3 separate regions of the Homo sapiens genome follow, and regions 2 and 3 are each linked to region 1. The links are contacts of gene promoters, found by promoter capture Hi-C in human tissues and cell types (Jung and others, 2019). All regions are on one chromosome and are shown on one strand. The core of a region is centred on a gene start or on the middle of the fragment in contact, and the rest is flanking DNA. Distances in the headings are between cores, read along the strand shown.

The links. The method cuts DNA at HindIII sites, captures the fragments that hold promoters and counts their contacts. A contact is called where the count stands out against the background at its distance.
Region 2: a contact is called between a fragment that was not itself captured here and the fragment with the promoter of KDM3B in region 1, in 1 of the 25 tissues and cell types used here (adrenal gland).
Region 3: a contact is called between a fragment that was not itself captured here and the fragment with the promoter of KDM3B in region 1, in 1 of the 25 tissues and cell types used here (hippocampus).

Annotation. Positions count from the first base shown.
Region 1 is chr5:138,351,419-138,354,118 of GRCh38, reverse strand. KDM3B (lysine demethylase 3B) reads right to left here and starts at 1,434. Exons shown (of 24, transcript NM_016604.4): 1 at 1,132-1,434. The coding sequence starts at 1,323. RefSeq lists an enhancer at 495-594 and silencers at 845-1,314, 1,395-1,634, 1,655-1,734. The HindIII fragment of the contact is 4,490 bases long and covers 1-2,700 here.
Region 2 is chr5:138,488,088-138,490,787 of GRCh38, reverse strand. No RefSeq gene overlaps it. Among named protein-coding and RNA genes, the nearest start is that of EGR1, 24 kb to the right of the region's middle. The HindIII fragment of the contact is 5,676 bases long and covers 1-2,700 here.
Region 3 is chr5:138,146,027-138,148,726 of GRCh38, reverse strand. All of the region lies in intron 23 of BRD8 (bromodomain containing 8), which reads left to right. Among named protein-coding and RNA genes, the nearest start is that of NME5, 7.9 kb to the right of the region's middle. The HindIII fragment of the contact is 5,043 bases long and covers 1-2,700 here.

The DNA of each region.
Region 1 (2,700 bases), core at 185-2,684:
TAGGAAGAAAAATGAACATCGGAAGCCTACAACATTACTTCCAAATCTCACAAACTGCGTTCCCGTTTATATCTGCAAAAGCAAGTTCATCAAGAAAATTTACTTTCTGCTTGCTGATCTATTACATTCCAAAAGACCACCCCCTGCCCCAACACGCACACACACCATTTTTCATAGCCTTATCTCACCAGAGAAGCTAGGGCCCCTATCAAAATGAGGAAATAAAGTGGCTTGCCAAAACTCAAACACTATATTTTACCGCCACATTAACGAGAATAACACATCATGATCCCGAATGCTAGTTAAGTTGTATGACTGAACAACTTTAATCACAAAACACACCAAGGCATTCAAAAAGGGCCAAGCCCAAACACAAAGTTTCAAAACAAAACCTCTCCCAAGGTTGGGGGAGTAGCTGAGCTGGGAGCAAAAAGCACTACCCAGCAGCCCCGTTCGGCCACTAAGAAAGATCTCAAACTTAACAAAAACAGCCACAACTGCAGCTCCTGTCACCCAGAAGCGTTAAGGAAAGGAGAGGAGAGCTCGAGACAGTGCCGAGAGCTGGCCTTTCTGGAGACCGCCAGGCCGAGCCCAGCTCAGATGAGGAAGTAACTGCCAGATAAAAAAGCCCCGACCAGCTCCAACTGCAGCCTCCGTGCCTCCCATAACTGCCCACATTCCCGCCCCACTTGGGGCTCTGGGAGAAAAGGAACAGGGCGCAGGTCTCCTGGGAGAGGCTGGGGACCACAGGTCCGCGTCTTCGAGAGGGCAGCGGCAACACTGGCCGAACTCTGAGGCTCCCGGGAGCTCAAGATTCGAGAGCCTGCTCCGAAGGCGTGTTGGGGGGAACGCCGAGAAAAGGGTCGCCCAGGAGGCGGGGCCTGCTGGCTGCAAGCAGCAGCTCCGGACGCCCTGGCCGCCCCCCGGGGGAAACCGGGGCGCACACCCCGACGCGGAAGCCATGCCGGCAAGCGCTCGGGGTGCGGAGGTGCCGGCGGGGGGCGCTAAGGAGACCCGGGGGCACGGAAATGGGTCACCCCCATCCCACCGCCCCCTCACAAAGGCCCCCGGGGAGGCCGCCCGCAGGCCCCGCAGCCCCGGCCTCGAGTGCCCGACTCGGCCGCCACTCACCGCTAGGTCCTGGGGCACCGCCCCGCTCATGGCCCGCACCGTGCCGGCCCGCCAGGCTCGAGTGCGCAGCGCAGGCCCCGGATCTCCGCTCGCCGCTGCCGCCGCGGGAGCCGAGGCCGAGGCTGAGGCCGCAGTGTCCGCGAACAGCAGCAGCAGCCGCTTGCCCACCGGGGAGGCCGCCGCGTCCGCCATCGCCGGGGCCGGCCTGACCCGCGCTCCCGCCCGCCGCCTCCCACCACCTCCGCCGCCAAGCGCCCGATCCGCCCGCAAGGCCTCCCTCCGCACCACCCGCGGCCGCCGTTCCCCCCCACCCCCCCCAACAGCCACCACCAACCACCGGCGCAGCGCAGCGCCCCCCGTGGCCGGGAGCGGAGCCGCAGCCTGGGCCCCGCACAGCGCCCCCCGCGCTCTGGAGCGGGGCGACAGCTCCTGGCCCCTCGCAGCGCTCCGCCCCAATCTCCCCGGGGCCTGCAGTGCCCCCTGCGGTCTGGAGGGGAATTGCAGGTCCGGCCGGGGTAGGGAAGTGGGCGGGTCCTTCAGCTTCCCCATGGCATCATCCCTGGTCTCAATCTTCCTTCAGGGAGTCGTATATATGAGAGGGCTTTAGCTTGCTCTCCTCGGATACCAAAGACATTTACGGGGTAAGGGGGTGAGGGGCAAGGTACCTAGAGAGTGGATGTTTTGAGCTATTTAGTGTCTCCAATACCCCCATTGATTTCCTATCCTGAAAATATGAGCTCCTACCTGCTGTCTTGTAGGAAATGTTCTCCCCATTGGTCCATGAGACACAATGTCTTCCTTCTCAATGGCCCATAACAGCACCATCCCATTCTATACTGCCAGCACTTCTTAGGTTCCTTTCCAATTGGCCAATGTATTACTTCCATTGGATGTATAATGCCACTCTTTCCACTGACTGAAGGCCAACGTGCCCCCCAACATCTTGGTGTTTTTCCTAAAACCGACCTAACTTCTTCCCCTTCCTAGTCTGCCAATGTTATTAAGTCTACGTGTTTCTCCATTCAACTCTTAGGGGAACTGGAAATAGACCAACAGTAAAGGGGTTCTCTTAGTAGCACTCCATCTTACCATGGAATTAGTGGGGCTGGGGGCAAAGAAAATTCTGTAACTCTTATCTGAATGCATTTAATACAGGTGTGGGAGACTGATAGCTCCTGATTAGAAAAGGAGCCTGCAGAGAAAGTGAGATGCTGAGATTTTTGGCTAGATTGTTACCCACAATAAGCAACAGGAAATTGCCTCAATCATTTAAAGCTGGCAATATCAGGGACTAGCACATTCCATGGTCTCATGGATGCAGAGACTGAGTATACACAAAATGGATACAAAAGATAAAGGGTATAGTAATAACCCATGACTGTTGTTCTAAAAGTGACTTTTTGATTTTCCCTACAGACAGGAAATAGTGGTAGCTGGTTCTTTCTCCAAGGCTTCTGTGCCTACCCCAGCTATCTCCTGTCCATAACCTTGTCTACACCCTTGACCTACTTTTCTTGTAACAAAGGCTTGGGGAGAGGGGTAACCAACTATTGACTTTATACTTTTACT
Region 2 (2,700 bases), core at 62-2,561, 140 kb before region 1:
TGTAGACTACGGGGTGACATGTAGATGTGTCATTCTGGCCTCCCCCGGAATGGGGACATGGAGCTGGCAGCACAAAAGGATGGGTTCGTGGAGGGCAGCAAAAGGCTTAAGGGAGATGTCGATTGGATCTCTGAGGAACAGGTTCCTTCTGCCCTGTGTTCTGATACTCTGCCACCCAGAGAAACCAGTTCTGAGGCCCAGAATATTTCGGGAGACTCTTGGGATCTCATAGTGAAAGATAAACACATATCTTCGCTAGAACCAGGCCCCTGACAAATAGCATGATGCCCAGGGCTTAATTCCATAGAATAAGCTGATAAATCATAAAGCCTCCAAAATCCAGCGATTTCCTTTCTCTTCGATTCCTCTGTGGAATAAATGAATATTTATTAGCCATCTCCCGTGTCCCAGCTTCCCATACATCATTTCAACTAATTCTCTGCACAGTTCCTATGAGGGACGTATTACAACATTCATTTTGCAAATAGGGAAACTAGAATTTGGGGAAAGATCTTAAGCACCTTGACCAAAAATCACACGGCCGTGGAGTGGCAGCACCAGGGCTGGGACCCCATTCTTCAGAGCCCAACCCCGTACCTTTTCCACTAGTTCTGTGTTCCTTTATATTTGCTTCTGTGCTACAGGTAAAGATAGTCTTCCCCGCAGGCTCCAAGGCACTGCCTTTCTAGGGAGTCCTCAGCAAGGAAAGGTGGCATCAGCATCTGCCTCTGGGCCCATGTGTTCCTGTGTGGCCCTGCCTGGCACTGCAGCAGCCCCAGCAGCCCCAATCCAGAGGCTTCTCCCTGCCAGCTGCCTTGTCTCCGTCATGGAGTTTCCCCGGCAGAGGGCAAGCGGAGGGAAAGTGGTTCCCAGCTGCCAGCTTCATCTAGGCAAAATCACTTTTGAGCCAGCCCTGGCTTCCCTCAGTCCCTCCAGAGGAGCACATTCAGCTCCCCCGCAAAAAGGAGGCGGGGAGAGACACAGAAAAGAAGGGAACTTCCATGTCTTTCTCTCCCTGGCTGGGAAGCACTTGGCTTTGGGCTGCCACTCATCTTGTAGGTGGGGAAGATTAATACTGATCCTCTTGAGTTACAGAAGTCTCTAAAATGAACCCTTGGGCAGAGCTTTGTCCAAGAGAGATGCTCGTGGAAAGCCCTGGGTCTGAGTGCGGTGGGAGGGGAGACGCAGGTCTCAGCAAGGACAGAGACCCCTGGATCTCCTCCTGCTCTCCCACGTGCTCTCTTCTGAGTGCATTCTTCTGTCCAAAAAGATAAGAAGGGTCATTTCCTGGCAAATGGAACAGGGTCAGGGAGAAAGCAAGAAGAGGAGGGAACTATCGGGTTTTGACCTTGAGCAAAACAGGGAAGGTGTTGATAGTGTTAATAGTTAACATTTACCCACAGTGTGTCAACCACTCTTCATTTATTATCTCATTTAATCCCCCCTCAGGTAATCCTACTGTTATCTCTGTTTTAGAGATAAGGAAATTGAGGCATATGGACTCCTCAGTAACAACTCCCAATTTATGAGAGATTTGGCCAGCTTGGGCAACATGGCGAGACCCCCTCGCTACCAAAAATACAAAAATTAGCCAGGCGTGGTAGTGCCTGCCTATAGTCCCAGCTACTCAGGAGGCTGAAGTAGGGGAGGATTGCTTGAGCCTGGGAGGTCGAGGCTTCGGTGAGCCGAGATTGCGCCACTGCACTCCAGCCTGGGTGACAGAGTGAGACTCTATCTCTTAAAAAAAGAGAGCCAGCCCAGCACTCTGTAGACATTGCCTCATTTAACCCGCATAAACCAATGAGATGAAACCATTATGGCCATTTTATTTTGCTTTTTTTTAAAACTTTAATTATTTTAAATTTCTTATTTTTTTTAACACCTACTAGAATGAGAATTACTCCCATTTTCTACAGGTGAAAACTGAGGTTCAGAGAAGTAGGGAACTTGCCTGTGATCATGAAGTATGTAAATGGCAGACCAAGGGCTCAGAATTTGGGTCTGTGTGACTCCAGAGCACGTGTGCTTGTCCTTTTTGCCCTGCTGTCTCCTGACTCACCAAGGCTTCTTCACCGCCCCTAGGGCTCCTGCTCAGATAGGCTGAGACCACAAAAATCTGCCCACACCTACATTTCCCTAGTGCTCCACACACAGATTAAAACTTGGCTGCTGTTCACTTTGTTTGTTCACACTTGCCACCAGAGCATGTATGGGGCGTGGACAGATAGGCATGGGTGATACGGGGCCCTGTGTCTTGGGACTCTGGCTGTCAACTGGACTCTCTCTCCCAACCCGGACTCCAGAAGCAGGAGACTTGAGAGGTCTCCACTACCCTTCCCAAGCCTTGAAATTTTCCTAAGAGACCAAGATGTCTCCATTGAACAGCCTCGGGAGATCTCCTGAAGACCCAAGGAGGTGCTTCTTGGAGAAGAGGCTGGAGAGCCCAGCAGTTTTTTGTTTGTTTGTTTGTTTGTTTGAGACCACGTCTTGCTCTGTTGCCCAGGCTGGAGTGCAGTGGTACCATCTTCACTCACTGCAACCTCCGCCTCCCAGGTTCAAGTGATTTTTCTGCCTTAGCCTCCTGAGTAGCTGGGAATACAGGCACGTGCCACCACGCCAGGCTGGAGTGCAGTGGTGTGATCTCGGCTCACTGCAATCTCTGTCTCTGGGGTTCAAGTGATTCTCCTGCCTTAGCCAGCA
Region 3 (2,700 bases), core at 95-2,594, 210 kb after region 1:
ATTATTTTGATGGAGACAAGGAAGAGGATAAAAAAATTTTTTTTTAAAGAAAAAATTAGGCCAGGCGCAGTGGCTCACACCTGTAATCTCAGCACTTTGGGAGGCAGAGGCAGGAGGATTGCTTGAGCTCAGGATTTTGAGACTAGCCTGGGCAATATAGTGAAACCTCATCTTTACAAAAAATAAACAAAATTTATTGGGTGTGGGGGCATGCACCTGTAGTCCTAGCTACACAGGAGGCCAAGGCAGGAGGACTGCTTGAACTTGGGAGGTGAAGGTTACAGTGAGCTATGATCATGTCACTACACAGCCTGGGTGACAGAGCAAGACCCTGTCTCAGAAAACAAAACAAGAAATAAAAGAGAAGAAAAAAATTATTTTGAAGTTTGTGATCTTTGTTTCTTTTTCACATCTCTTAGGGGATTGTTTATGTCAAGCTTGTCTAATCCCTAGCCTGCAGCCCAGGACAGCTTTGAATGTGGCCAAACACAAATTCTTAAAACATTATGAGATTTATGCACTGACCCTTTTTTTTTCCCTTTTTTTTTTCTTTTTTTTTTTTTTTTTCCAGCTCATCAGCTATTGTTAGTGTATTTTATGTGTGGTCCAAGACAATTCTTCTTCTTCCTCCAGTGTGGCCCAGGGAAGCCAAAAGATTGGACACCCCTGGTTTATGCAATTGTCTCATCTTTGTATAGATAATTATAGGACTAAATAACACATTTTCAAATCTTAATGGGGGCTGTTTTTTTTTAACAGGAAACCAAAAAAATATTAATTTTTTTTTTTGAGATAGGATCTCACTCTGTTGCCCAAGTTAGAGTGCAATGGCATGATCTTGGCTCACTTCAGCCTCCGCCTCCTGGGCTCAGGTGATCCTCTCACCTCAGCCTCATGAATAGCTGGGAACACAGATGTGCACCACCACAACCAGCTGATTTTTTTGTATTTTTGTTAGAGACAGGGTTTCATCACATTGACCAGACTGGTCTCAAACTCCTGGACTCAAGCGATCCCCTGCCTTGGCCTCCCAAAGTCCTGGGATTATAGGCATGAACTACTGCATCTGGCATGAAGTGAATTACTTTTTAAAGCAGAAAAACAAAGTTGTTTTTATCTGTGACTCCTGGCCTCAAGTGATTCTCCTGCCTCAGCCTTTCAAAGTGCTGAGATTATAGGCATGAGCCACTACGTCCAGCAAAGTTATTTTTGTTATGGTAATAAATAAATTGTTCTTTTTCCAGCCTGTGTCAGATCCATCTGTTGAGAGAATATAGTATGAACTGTTTTTTTTTTCTTCAGTATATCCCAGATCCACCCAGTTGTCTGTGGAAAGGTAAAACTAATAATTATTCTAGTGTTTTTTTGTTTAAGATATACAGCTGAACCATGCATATATTTATATATGAATATATATATATATATATTTTTTGAAGAGCAGATTTCTTTTTTTTCTCATAGAGACAGGGTCTTGCTTTGTTGCCCAAGCTGGGTCTTGAACTCCTGGCTTCAAGCAATCCCACCTCAGCCTCCCAAAGTACTGGGATTATAAGCCTGAGCCACTGTGCCCAGCCTAGATTTCAATTTTTGGTACACAAATAGGATACAGTTTAAAATGTAGATTGGTGAGGAATGCCTTCATTTGCTTTTCTTTAACTCCTTAAGTATGAGCAATAGAGTGCAGAGATGACATACTGTGACTGTACAAACAGCAGGAAATCTGCAATCTGAGACTTTTTTTTTTTTTTTTTTTTTTTGAGACGGAGTTTCGCTCGGTCGCCCAGGCTGCAGTGCAGTGGCGTGATCTCGGCTCACTGCAAGCTCTGCCTCCTAGGTTCACACCATTCTCCTGCCTCAGCCTCCCAAGTAGCTGGGACTACAGGCACCCGCCACCACGCCCAGCTAATTTTTTGTGTATTTTTAGTAGAAACGGGGTTTCACCGTGTTAGCCAGGATGGTCTCAATCTCCTGACCTTGTGATCCGCCTGCCTCGGCCTCCCAAAGTGCTGGGATTACAGGCGTGAGCCACCACACCGGGCCCAATCTGAGACATCTTATCTCATGACAGTTCATAGTCTTGGATGGTAAATTCCACATTCTTACCTTACAATTTAGATTAAATATGAAATCTTTATTAGAAAGCAGTAGATATCCAGCCTGGGCAACGTAGTGGGACCTTGTCTCTACAACAAATACAGAAATTAGCTGCAGGGCGTGGTGGCATGTGCCTGGAGTCCCAGCTACTTGGGAGGCTGAGGCAGGAGGATCGCTTGAGCCCAGCAGGTTGAGGCTGCAGTAAGCCACGATCACACTACTGCACTCCAGCCTGGGCAACAGAGCAAGACCCTGTCTCAAAAAAAAAAAAAATTGGCTGGGCATGGTGGTTCATGCCTGTAATCCCAGCACTTTGGGAGGCTGAGGCGGGTGGATCACTTAAGGCCAGGAGTTTGAGACCAGCCTGGCCAACATGGCAAAACCCCGTCTCTATGGAAAATACAAAAATTAGTTGGGTGTGGTGGTATGCAACTTTAGTCCCAGCTACTTGGGAGGCTGAGGCAGGAGAATCGCTGGAACCCGGGAGGCAGAGGTTGCAGTGAGCTGAGATCATGCCACTGCACTCCAGCCTGGGCAACAGAGCAAGACTCTGTCTCAGAAAAATAAAATTAAAAAATTAAAAGAGAAAACAATAGATATTAATAA